3 separate regions of the Homo sapiens genome follow, and regions 2 and 3 are each linked to region 1. The links are contacts of gene promoters, found by promoter capture Hi-C in human tissues and cell types (Jung and others, 2019). All regions are on one chromosome and are shown on one strand. The core of a region is centred on a gene start or on the middle of the fragment in contact, and the rest is flanking DNA. Distances in the headings are between cores, read along the strand shown.

Evidence for each region. Contacts are between HindIII fragments. The study calls those that stand out against the background at their distance.
Region 2: a contact is called between a fragment that was not itself captured here and the fragment with the promoter of UPK3A in region 1, in 1 of the 25 tissues and cell types used here (ovary).
Region 3: a fragment that was not itself captured here is called in contact with the fragment with the promoter of UPK3A in region 1 in 2 of the 25 tissues and cell types used here (spleen and stomach).

Annotation. Positions count from the first base shown.
Region 1 is chr22:45,282,400-45,286,649 of GRCh38, reverse strand. UPK3A (uroplakin 3A) reads right to left here and starts at 1,701. Exons shown (of 6, transcript NM_006953.4): 1 at 1,585-1,701; 2 at 554-709. The coding sequence starts at 1,636. RefSeq lists a silencer at 1,571-1,880. The HindIII fragment of the contact is 20,192 bases long and covers 1-4,250 here.
Region 2 is chr22:45,335,904-45,340,153 of GRCh38, reverse strand. It overlaps FAM118A (family with sequence similarity 118 member A), which reads right to left. Exons shown (of 9, transcript NM_017911.4): 8 at 3,743-3,826. Among named protein-coding and RNA genes, the nearest start is that of FAM118A, 28 kb to the right of the region's middle. The HindIII fragment of the contact is 3,238 bases long and covers 879-4,116 here.
Region 3 is chr22:45,316,629-45,320,878 of GRCh38, reverse strand. All of the region lies in intron 1 of FAM118A (family with sequence similarity 118 member A), which reads right to left. Among named protein-coding and RNA genes, the nearest start is that of FAM118A, 8.8 kb to the right of the region's middle. RefSeq lists enhancers at 2,228-2,297, 2,348-2,397. The HindIII fragment of the contact is 9,677 bases long and covers 1-4,250 here.

The DNA of each region.
Region 1 (4,250 bases), core at 452-2,951:
AGCTGTTGTAAATGACTGGCTGCTAGAAATGCAAGAGTTGATGTTGGCTTGTCTCAGAAGCTCAGGATCCCCTCCAGGGCAGGGGTTGGGGCTGGGCCACAGCAGCAGGTCCAAATGCATGGTTTTGTCTCAGAAACACCAATCTTGAGCCACCTTTCGAAGCCTCAGGAAGGACCTTGGGCTTGGGGACTAGAGAGATCAGGATTCACTCTCCAGCCCTGGGAGGTCCAGGGGGGGTTATTCCACCTCTCTGAGCCTTGCTTCCCTGCTCTGTAATGGGGATTGGTAATAGCTACCTTACAAGCTGGTTGTAGATACTAGCTCTATGGTGTGCAAAGTGCCTGGTATGGTGTAGGTGTTCAGTGACTGGTGGTGTTATTACTTCCCTCACTAACTGGATGTCCCTGCAAGGCAAGGACAGGTCTGTGGCTGCAGTACCTGTTTAATGAGACGACTACAGGCATGGAGGGTTCCTCTATCTGCCTCCTTCCCTCCTCCCTGCAGACAGGTCAGAGCCCCTTTTGGAGTAGCCAGAGGGAAGCAGGACCCTTACCTGAGTCGACCAGGACATACAGGTAGACCTCGTGGGTGCCAGTGAGGGCCTCTTTGCTGTCAAACATGCAGAGAGGCTTTTCCAAGGCCACAGTGGTAAGTGTGGGGTTGTTGGTGGCGAAAGTCACACTGGCCAGTTGGGGCTGCAGGTTCACAGCTGGAGGAGGCAGTGAGGATGGGAACTGACCTCCGGCAGAACTGTCCACACCCACTCTGCTTGCAGTTACTGAGCACGTGTTGTGTGCCAGGCCCTGGGCTTCACCCTCCCCCTGGGCCACCGCATAAGCTGTCTCAGACACTGCCCCCTGCCCAGTCATCCTGCTCAGAAATGGAGCGGTCGGGCCAAACTGCTGCCTTCTCTCCCTGCTGCAGACACTCAGTTGCCAAGAACTCCACTGCCCCTCCTAAGCATCTCTCCATGCCATCGGCCCAGCCCTCCTCCGTCCCACCTTCCTCACCTGGGCCCTCCCCCCACATGCAAGTCTGACTGCCTCATTCTCTGGCTATGGCCCTCCCATGGTCCCCCAGCGCCCCCTGACGAAGTCCAGCCTCTCTGGAAAGGCAGTGAGGTCCTGAAGTTCTGGGCTTTGCTTTGTTCGGTCTCCAGCCTCACCCCTTCCCCCACAGGCTCCCCTCACCCCAGGCTCCAGCTGGTCCCATGGACTGGCAGTTCCCAGGACAGCCCAATATTGTCTCCCCTCCATGAACTTGCCCATGCTGCTTCCTCGGCCGAAATATCTCTCTATCTGCCCCCGTCCAGGCGTCACCATGGGGCTGGGGCTAGTCCCTTCTCTGTCCTACCGCAGCCCCCCTGCATGTTGGTCTCTTGCAACACACATCGCAGGGCTGCAGCCATCTGTGAGCCCTCGGATTCCCAACAGAGGAGGCCCGTAAACGTTGGCTATCACTATTATTCATAACAGTAATATCTGGGTCCCCAGCGCCAGGAATCAGGGTCCAGGCGGCGGGCGCCCCAGGGCAGAGCTGCCCGCTCTTTCTGGGCTCAGCCCCCTCCTGCCCTTCACCGCCTACCCGAGCCGAACCGCAGGCAGCCGAGGGCCAGCAGGGCCCAGAGCGGAGGCATCGCCCGGGAGGAGCCGCCAGAGCGCGGGGCGGGCGGTCCAGCGAGCAGGCGCGGGCACCAGACCTGTCCCTGCCAGGGCACCTGCCAGCTCTGGGCCCTCGGCGCGCCCCGCCCCCGCCTGGGCTGGCCAATCCGCGGCCTCCTCGCGCGCTATTTGCATACGGCCCTGCCCCGGGCTTCCCCGACCCGTGCGCGGTGCCCCAGGGCGCAATCCCACCGGGCAGGACCTTCTCCAGCCCGCATCAAAGCGCCTACTGTGTGCCCAGGCCAGGGCAGCCCTTCCACAGCGTCTCTCACCAATGGGACCTTGAGGGCAAGCCACTCCCACTTGGAGCCTCAGTTTCCATACTGTAAAATGACGCTAATTTCTACAACTATTTATGGAGGCTCTATTACGTGCCAAACACTCACTGGGCACTCGCGAAACAAAATGGGTTGACCAGTAAAGGTGATATCCTGGAAAACGAAGTCCAGGCCTGGGAGCTATCCAGAGACCCTAGTATGACGCCTAGTATGACCCCTTCGGTTCACAGGTACAAGCCAAGGCCCGGGAGGCTGGGGGGTGGGGCAGGGGGTAAGTATTGGAGCGTGGTGGGGGGCGCGGGGACAGGGACTCACCCCCGGCCGCGCTTGGTCTCCTGGAGACACTGAGGCTGGTGGAACCCAGGAGTCCAGTGCTCAGCCCAGGGCTGCCTCCAAAGGGATGGAGCAGGGTGTTAATGCCTACTTCTTAAAGGGGCGTTTGAAAATTATGATGGACTCCTCACCATGACTGTGCGGTTCCCTCCATCACAAGAATCTGTGCACATCTCTGGATGCACCTTAAATCAATTTTACATTTAAGAAATAAAAGTAAGTCAACAAGGATAGGAAAAAAACAACAGAAGAGGGGCAAGGAGGCTCATGCCTGTAATCCCAACACTTTGGGAGGTCAAGATAGGAGGATCCCTTGAGGCCAGGAGCTAGAGACCATCCTGGGCATCATAGTGAGACCCCATCTCTACCAAAAAAAAAAAAAAAAAAATTAGCTCAGCCTAGTGGGGCATGCCTGTAGTCCCAGGATTGCTTGAGCCCAGGAGGTCGAGGCTACAGTGAACTATGATCATGCCACTTTGAGCTATGATTAAAGCTGCAATAACAGAGCCAGACCCTGTCTCTTAGAAAAAAGATAAAGAAAATCAACAGAAACTAATTAATCTCTGTATGACGTTGATGACATAACCTCACTTGCAGAAAAAGAATAAAACGATCTGAGTAATTATAGAGCTGGGTTGTCCAGGGGTACCTCCTTAGTGGAGTACACTCTAAGAACTGGGAGGCCTGTGACAGAACCCCAAACCTCACTAGTGACTTTGTTATTGGCAGTGGGGAGGGCGGAGCCATTCCGAAGCAACTTTGGGTTATCCTAGGATTGGTGGTACCAGAACCCAGATTCTCACTGTAGGATGAGGGAGATTTGGAATGGAGGAAGGAAGCACATGAGGTCAGTGTGTCCCATTATTGGGGATGTTCCATTTCATCATTTGGTAAAGTTGGTATCTCTGGATTAATGTATGTCTTGTTCCCTAAAAATCTTTTTTTTCTTTTTTTTTTTGGGGGGGACGGAGTCTTGCTCTGTCACCCAGGCTGGAGTGCAGTGGCGTGATCTCGGCTCACTGCAAGCTCCACTTCCCACGTTCACGCCATTCTTCTGCCTCAGCCTCCCGAGTAGCTGGGACTACAGGCACCTGCCACCATGCCTGGCTGATATTTTGTATTGTTTTAGTAGAGACGGGGTTTCGCTGTGTTAGCCAGGATGGTCTCAATCTCCTGACCTTGTGATCCACGCACCTCAGCCTCCCAAAGTGCTGGGATTACAGGCGTGAGCCACCGCGCCCGGCCCTTGATCCCTAAAAATCTTTCCCCAGCTGGATGCGGTGGCTCACGCTTGTAATCCCAGCACTTTGAGAGGCCGAGGTGGGCAGATCATGAGGTCAGGAGTTTGAGACCAGCCTGGCCAACACAGTGAAACCCCTTCTCTACTAAATATACAAAAAAACCCAAAAAACTAGCCAGGCGTGGTGGCAGGCGCCTGTAGTCCCAGCTACTTGGACATCCATGTCCCGCCCAAAAGGTTTAACTTGAATCTCATCAATAGGAAACCATCAGACAGTTCTCAGCCTTTTGTTTTGTTTTGCTTCTGTCTTTCCTGATGTGAACATTTGCAAAGCATCCAGTCCAGCTGGTTTGCAGAAAGTCCCTGCATGTGGATCTGTCTGATGGTTTCCTATTGATGAAATTCAAGTTAAACCTTTTGGGCAGGACATGGTCATGACGGTGAGTTCTAATCAGTGCTACTTGGGAGGCTGAGGCAGGAGAATCTCTTGGACCCAGGAGGTGGAGGTTTCAGTGAGCTGAGATCGCGCCGTGCCACTGTAATCCAGCCTGGGTGACACAGTGAGACTCCGTCTCAAAAAAAAAAAAAAAGCAAGCTGAATGTATGACTTCCATTATTTATTTTGTGCTCAAATGTTCCCAGGCCTGGCTGTTGGCAGCTCCTTCCAGCAGCTCTGTGCTAGCTGCTTTCACGCTCCCACCATTCTTTGAGAACCTCTTTACTTTCTGGCACAATAAA
Region 2 (4,250 bases), core at 1,248-3,747, 53 kb before region 1:
AATCTCAATCCATGAACATGGATGCTCTTTTATTTCTTAGTGGACTGAGGATGGGGCAATTTCAACAAACATACAGTGAGAGCCTGTTGGAGGTATGGAGAAGAATAAGCCTGTCGATTCCTCTGGGATCCCCAGGCTTGGCTTCTCTCACCCACATGCAGGACAGGCCAGGGCTTTCTGTACAACAGAGGCCAGGAGCTTCGCCCTAAGGAGACATGACTGGGTGGGGAGAGCCGGGGCTGCAGGTGCAGGTGATGGCGTCTAGGAGCACAGATCTCACAGGTATTGAAGAAAACCCCTGCCCAATGCTCCACAGCAAGGTCTACCAGGCAGTAGGCCCTACCCGCGATGTGCACACCAGTCAGAGGTAGGCCACGGGGGGACAAAATCTATGTACACACAACAGCAGCAACAGCAGAAGAAAGCCAATCTATTGAGAATAATCGCCCGGGCCTTCGTTCTTGTCAGCAGGCACTGGAGGAGCCCAGATATGCAGAAAACAAAACAATGAACGTGAAAGAAAGTAGTGGAAAAGAACCACCTACCCCGGAGGAAACAGTTCACAGAACACCAGTTTTGTGTTTTGTTTTTACTTATATGATGGTTCTACTAGCTGAACTCACAATCCAAATATTTGCAAAAAGATTTCAAACAGTTTGATCCAAAACAATATCAAAATCGAATTCTCTAAAACATGTGTGCCCCCAAGTGCATTTGAAGTTGTATAAAACTATTATTATTATTTTATCTTTTTTGAAACGGAGTCTTGCTCTGTCGCCCAGGCTGGAGTACAATGGTGTGATCTCGGCTCACTGCAACCTCCGCCTCCTGGGTTCAAGCAATTCTCCTGCCTCAGCCTCCTGAGTAGCTGGGACTACAGTAGGCGCCCGCCACCACACCCAGTTAATTTTTGTATTTTTAGTAGAGACGGGGTTTCGCCATGTTGGCCAGGCTGACCTGGCCTCAGGTGATTCACCTGCCTCAGCCTCCCAAAGTGCTGGTAATATAGGCGTGAACCACTAAGCCCAGCCAAAGTTGTATAAAACTAAATGAGAGGATGTCGAGTCTGTGACAGCTGCCCCTCACAGCTCTCCCACAAGGACTGCCACATCAGCTCACTCTCATCTTCCCTGCCCCTGGACGGCAGGACGCTAGGGCGCCCCCACCCCCTGCCACCAGCCCTCGCTTGTGCTATAATTCACTCTGCAGGTGGCCCTTTTAGAACTGCCTTATTTTACTTGACTAAATTTGCACTCACTAAGAATCTTTATAACATGGACTATTGCACATGGTCCCTGTGGTGTTGAAGGAACGTGCAGGGACATGATACTGCTCCAGCATACCCACTGAAGGATTTAAATGTTAAATGAAGAGGTAACTGATAAGCTGGATGCTTCGTAGCTCTCAGAAATTTTGGGTGGACTGCTATATAGGTATTTAAGAGTGTTTTACTTTGGCTTACTTATATAAAGTACTAAATATAAACTCCTATTATATGAAAATCCTCTCTCAATGTTTTCAGGAATGTAGTAGAGTCAGATAACCAGGTTGACTTCTGTCTCCAGAGTTCTCGCAGACTTACAACAGCAGATGCTCTGAGAAAAGGTAACTAAGAAAACAAGAGCTTGGCCGGGCGCAGTGGCTCACGCCTATAATCCCAGCAGTTTGGGAAGCCAAAGTGGGTGGATCACAAGGTCAGGAGTTTGAGACCAGCCTGGCCAACATAGTGAAACCCCATCTCTACTAAAAGTACAAAATTAGTCGGGCATGGTGGTGTGCGACTGTAGTCCCAGCTGCTCAGGAGGCTGAGGCAGGAAAACAGCTTGAATCCAAGAAGCGGAGGTTGTGGTGAGCCGAGATCGCGCCACTGCACTCCAGCCTGGGCAACAGAGCAAGACTCTGTCTCAAAAAATAAAAAAAAAGACATCAGAGAAAACTTAAAAGACGGTGGAAATCAATCCAGGCAATCCCAACTAGTATGACTTCCAGAAAGGGAGAACAGAGAAGATGGAAAGAAGAAATAAAGAGAATCACAGACCATTCCAGAACTGGAGAAATGGAAGAGGAAAAAGAACATGTGAGTAAGGCAGGTAAAAAAGTTTTCCACCTAAATACATCCTCATTGAATTTCTAATCAAGGGAAAAGAGGATCCTAAAAACTCCCAGGAAAAAAAGCAACGGGTACCTTCAAATCACTGGGAACAGGTTCCCATCAGACCCTCTTCATAGGAAACCTGGTCTTCAGACAGTGGAGTCCGGGGGAATCACAACGGAGAATCCCATGCCAAAACTCCCGCGAGCATGAGGATGGCACAGACACCTGCAGACACATGGCCCTCAGGAGGCGACCCCACACTGGGGTCTGCAGAAGCGGCCTCAGGAGGTACTAGCAGGATGGATGGGGGGCCAGAGCAAGGGAGACCTAGGCCTCCATCTCAGAGAGAAGGAGGGGAGCTCAGGAGGTAGCAGTCCCCAGCGGAGCCGACCAGGAGAAGGTGTCCTGGGAGATGTGGGGTGGCAGGATGAAGAGAATGCATACTTTTTTTAAAAAAAAATTTCTTATTCAGTTCTGAAAGCTGAGGGAGTGCATACATTTAAGAATATTGGGAAACGTTAGTTTTTGGAACACAAAGGGGAAAGAAGAACCTAAAAACTCCTCAAAAAGTAAGAAGTAACACAAATGTCTTCAAGCCCCAATATTAAACAATAAAAAATGGGAGAATGGAATATAAGAACAAGCCACATTTGACCCTGACATTGAGGACACATCCGCAGCTGGCACAGGCGGCGTGGCACTGGGCCCACAGACACAACACACATGCTGGCTAAGCAGGAAAGAACACTGACGCTGTTTTCATCACGGAAATGCTTTTGTTTGCCAACTTTTACAATCAACCTACAGACAGACTGGGGGTCTCGTTTCCTTTCTGTCCTGTCACCACGGAGACCGACAAAACGGGGAAGCCAGCGGGCTAGGGGGTGGGATACGCATGTGGGGGCCCATCCAGCCCAGGCTTCGTGTGGGGAAGTCTGGCTTAAGTATGTTATTTAAAGAATGAGAAATAACACACAGCACTACGCAAACCTGGGAGGAGGAGGAGGGGAGGAGAGGGAGGGACCGGCACGAACAAGCGAGATCGCCCTTCATAGCGTCAACAGAGAGGCCTATTCAAATACACTGTTTAGATAAATAGTTCAATCACTTAAATAAATCTTAGTCTGTAACAGAGGCAACAAAGCTCAAATGAGTTAAAGTGCTTTTCTCCAGAGACTCAGGTGACATGCATCAGGCTAGTGGTCACCCTTGGGGGCTGGAGGAGGCTGGACAGTGACAAGGGGTGTCCTGGCAATGCTGCTTCCTCAACTGCGTGTGATTAGATGGGAGCGTTCACTTCGCAAAAATGCGGAGCTGACCTTATGTAACTTGTGCACTTTTTATTCATCTTTTTAACTTTTCTTTTTGGAGAGAGCACCTTCTGCCCGCTGCACCTTCTTAGTGTATGTTTTCTCCGTAACATTTTTCTAAAGAGGTACCAGTAGCTCTGGGCAGTTGGAATCGGGTTGGGGTGAGAGGTCAGGGTCTCTGCTAAGTAAGCCTCCTGTGCTCTCTGGCCCTGACAGAACGTATGCACCGTCCTCCCACCATAGGGCGCGGGGCATTAAAGCGCAGCACGGTCCCTGAAGATGCCTGCCAACAAGAGAGACCCGAGGCAGCTCCCCACAAAAAGAACAGACACAATACCAGTATCTGATTGTGTGCGTTTTTTTGAAACTTCAATTCCATTCTCTTCTAACTTCCTCTTTGCACAGTCCTGGCATGCATTACCTAAAAGAGAAGAATTTATTAAGAAGCTTGTTTATTCAGAATCCACTCGCCAAGGCACAGTTCATAATGTGACCTTACTGAAGCACTGGCCAAGCAGACCCTGCCATCCACTAGAGATGACATCAACCACGCTACGGCTTCTCTCCAAAGAGAGCCATGCTTCCAGGAGTCGCATTTCAGTGAGAAAGCAAGTGTAATGAAGATGTCCTTTCGCATGGGAATAGGTGGCAACGGGGAGCCGACTGCGGCGGTTTCATACTTCCTGCACCACTAACATGGATGTGAGGCGAGCAGCTCCCACATCGATGCGCGTTTTCCCATCTGTGAACGCGCTGGGCCAAACAGCCAGGGAAAACAGGGCTGCGCACAGAGGCCTCCGCGCCACTCACCAGAGTCCCTTTTACCCAAATGATTCGGCAAGGGG
Region 3 (4,250 bases), core at 941-3,440, 34 kb before region 1:
AAGAACTGCTGAGTTAGAGAGTATGAACACTGTAAAATATCTTAGCACACACCACCAAACCGCTTTCCAGAAAAGTGGTCAGCAGAACACGTCAGTGCTCGCTTTGCCACATCCAAACCAGCACTGACTGAAAATGACTTTGGCAGAGTACGCTGGCTCACATCTGTAATCCCAGCACTTTGGGAGGCTGAGGTGGGAGGATCCCTTGAGCCCAGAATTTCAAGACCAGCCTGGGCAACATCATGGGGAAACCCCATCTCTACAAAAAATACAAAAATTAGCCAATGTGGTGGTGCTCATCTGTAGTCCCAGCTACTTGGAAGGCTGAATGGTAAAATCACCTGAGCCCAGGAGGTTGAGGCTGCAGTGAACCACGACTGTGCCACTGCACTCCAGCCTGGGTCGCAGAGTGAGACCCTGTCTTAAAAAGAAAAAAAAAAAGAAGAAGAAGAAGGAAGAAAAGAAAAAGAAAAATTACGTGTTTGTTTGTTTTTTTTTGATGGAGTCTCGCTTTGTCACCAGGCTGGAGTGCAGTGGCACAGGCCTGCGCCACCACATCCGGCTAATTTTTGTATTTTTCATAGAGACGGGATTTCACCATGTTAGCCAGGATGGTCTCGATCTTTGACCTTGTGATCCGCCTGCATCGGCCTCCCAAAGTGCTGGGATTACAGGCATGAGCCACAGCAACTGGCTGAAAAATCACTTTTTCACATGTGTAATCTTCACTCACACACACACACCCAGCCACTAGAATCAGGTCATCAAAAGTAATTTTCCAGGGTAAGGAAACAAGGCTTAATCAGTCCATAAGCATCATTAGATCGCAGAGCTAAATGGGATCCCCGTTATCCTTTGAAAATGTAAACAACTACCTAAGTCCATGCATATATTTTCCTAGGGAGAGTTCACAGCTTCCATCAACTCCCAAACATGTCTGCGACCTTACCCCAAATGCTAAGAAATCACAGTCCACAGGCAAAGAAAACGAGGCTCACAGATGCCTGTAACCTGCCCCAGGGAAAGACTGGCAGAGTCCGGGCTGGGGCTTGGCCCTAACACATCCTTCTTCCCATTGAGGAGTTAACATCAGTCATCAAACTAATCTTTTGTTTTTTTAATCTACTAGATACTTTCTAAGGAAAGTAACAGAAGTTGAGTTTCTCCGCTGTATAATATAATCCCTCCACCATCTATTAATAATATAAGCAACTCTGGACCCCACCCCTGAGATTTCAATGACTGATTTAACTGTTCACCAATCCTCAGTTTTATTAACCATAAAACATGGATTCTTGCCAATGGGCCGAGTTTTGAAAGCTCAGGCCTCTGTATGAAAGTGCTCTGGCAGCTGGAACTGCTGAGTCCAACAGCTCAGGCTCTGGCCTGTGGATGAGGCGGCCTGCACACTCCCGGCCTCCTGCTGTGGGGCAGGACTTGGGAGCCACTCCTGTTCAATCCTATTTGGAAGGGGACGATAAGAGGGCTCATCAGCTGGCTAATTCAAGTGCCCCCTACTCCCGCCCCCCAAAATAATCCACATCACTTCCAAATAGTTACTCCTCCCTGTCTATGAGAAGGGCTTGTTTAGTTCAGCCGTCTGTACACGACATTTTAGACTATTTTTTAAACACGCACTGGTCAACCAGTGACGTAAAAAAACCACATGCCTAAAACTGTTACCACAGTAAAGAACTTTCAAAATCTACCTCTAGTTCTTTCAACCACTGTTCAATTGCTTTCGATTCTCCACATATAAGTGATTATGGTTACAAATTCAAATCCTAAATACTGCATTTACACATCTTCAAAAACAGTATGAACAAATTAAACTTTTGCAGGCTATATTTAACTCCGAAATTAAGTGATTTCAAAGTTTCTCAAAAGAACGAGGTATCACACTATTCCTAACACTTACGTAACAGGCCACAGCTCGCACTCCTGGGTGGTCTGTGGCTCGCTTAAGTGCTCAAAACCTCTTTCTCAGCCTGAACTGCAGGTCTGGTGCTGGCTCCTCAGACAGTATTTCAAACACAACCACACGGAGTCCAACCTCAATAGGCAGATGGGCCTCTAGACTTTAATACTGATGCATACTTTTAAGGATCAAAGGAGCCAACACGGAAAGTACCCAATTATATAAAAACTCAACACAGCAACTCTGCAACTTGAACTGCACAGTTGCCCATATTTAGACATTTACAGTTCATTATCACACTACATGTTTAAAGACATTACCTCATTTCCTGTTTTACAGCAGCCTAAACATCAGAGTCAAATCTCACAATAATCTAGAAATTACCCTAAATCTCCCCCTTGTTTTTAAACCAAAATCCAAGTAAGGTGATCTCAAAAGCACTCGGCACCAGGTCCTAGAAGTTTCAGCAGGACAGCAAGCTCCAGCGTTCTGCTCCCATCCAAACACCGTCTAAGCCAATCAGATCCCAGAAAACAGTAACAAAACCCTTCGGAGGCCTTTCAGACGCTGCATCTCTCGGTTTCCTTAGTGACTATGTCGTCACCACGGTGTGTGGGCCCAGAGCCAAGTCATCATAGCAACCCTTCTTTTTTTTCAAGGACCTATCAGCATTTCTGAAAGCAAAATCTGGCCCCAGCAGAGATTCTTATAAGCAGTTCCTGTCTTTTTTAATCCAAAGCCAAACTCTTACCAGGATGCTGTCTGCTTAGAACTTAAGATCACTAGCATTTTATAAACTAGCATAGAGTAGCTAGAGACTGTCTTATTCTTCAAACCCTGGCATCCAGCACTACGTAAACGTTCATCAAACGGAGTTCAATGCAAAATACAAGCTACCAAAATCGAACTTGTTATTTACAGGTAGTAAAACAAAGTACCTCACAACCCTACCGTGGTAGGATGTTAATGGCCCCGCCCCTCATGCCTGCTGGCAGCCACACCCTTCTACAGCCCCTCACAGACTCCAGGCTTAGCCATGTGACTTTTTGGCCACTGAGATATCGGCAAATGGGATAACGGGAAGCAAGTACAAGTCCGACACACCCTTTACGACAGAGCCTGTCCCGGTGGAATTCTGCCCTGCAGAGCTCTGGCCTGCCACTTGGTGGGCAGCCGAGGTACCATCCACCCACACAAGAGCAAGGCTGCCTTGGGCCACAACTGCATGAGTGGCCCCAGCGAGCCTGGCATAAGAACCTGCTGGGCCGGGACCTGGGCCTGGCGCTGAGCTAGCAAATAGGCTGTGGCTGTTTAAACCCTGGCGGGACAGGGAGAAGCCCAGAGTGCCAAGGAAAACAGAGCAGATGGACGAATGAACGAACATCACGAGGCTCTGTGGGGAGAGGGGAATGTGTGTCAAGAACTGTAATGATTAAAAGTGGTGTAACAAAAAAACCTTAAATTACTCGCTTTCCATTACAAGCTATATGTTCACTTAACAAGCACAAACCATCAACTGGAAGTGTCCAGATTCTGGGATCCTCAAAAGTATCCTTTAAGAAAACCTTTTCTGTGTGTTTTGAGAGTGAGTTTCACTCTTGTTGCCTAGGCTAGAGTGCAATGGCGCAATCTCGGCTTGGTGCAACCTCCGCCTCCCGGGTTCAAGCAATTCTCCTGCCTCAGCCTTCCAAGTAGCTGGGATTACAGGCACACGCCACTAAACCTGGATAAGTTTGTGGTTTTTCAGTAGAGACAGGTTTCACCATGTTGGTCAGAGGCTGGTCTCGAACTCCTGACCTCAAGCAATCCACTTGCCTCAGCTTCCCAAAGTGCTGGGATTACAGGTGTGAGCCACTGTGCCCAACTTTCTTAATTTCTTTCTATAAATAGATGATCACATGGGCTTTGAGCAGTTTCAAAAAGCAAGGAGATAAGGGTGTCCAAGCAGCATCTGATTACAATGAAGCAAGAGGGACTCAGAGTAAACATAAGCTCAAACTACATCCATCTCACACAGGAGTGAGTGGTGTCACATTTACTCGGCAAAGTTTCCGAATGCTCACCTTTAACTCACCTGTAGTCAATCCACAGTGATCATAAAATGACCCCAGAATTTGCAAAGTCAGACAAGGTCACTGTGACTACAAAGGAGTTGATTTATGTTGAGCCCTTAGAGCAAAGCCCGGCAACACAGTAGGCTATTAGTACCAATATTACCACTGCCACTGTGACAAAAGCGCCTCACACTAAGAAAGCATTTATAAATGTGCTACTGACAGGAGACAAGAGGCTGGGAAATACTAAATTTAATCAGTGTAGCCAGGGTGGATCT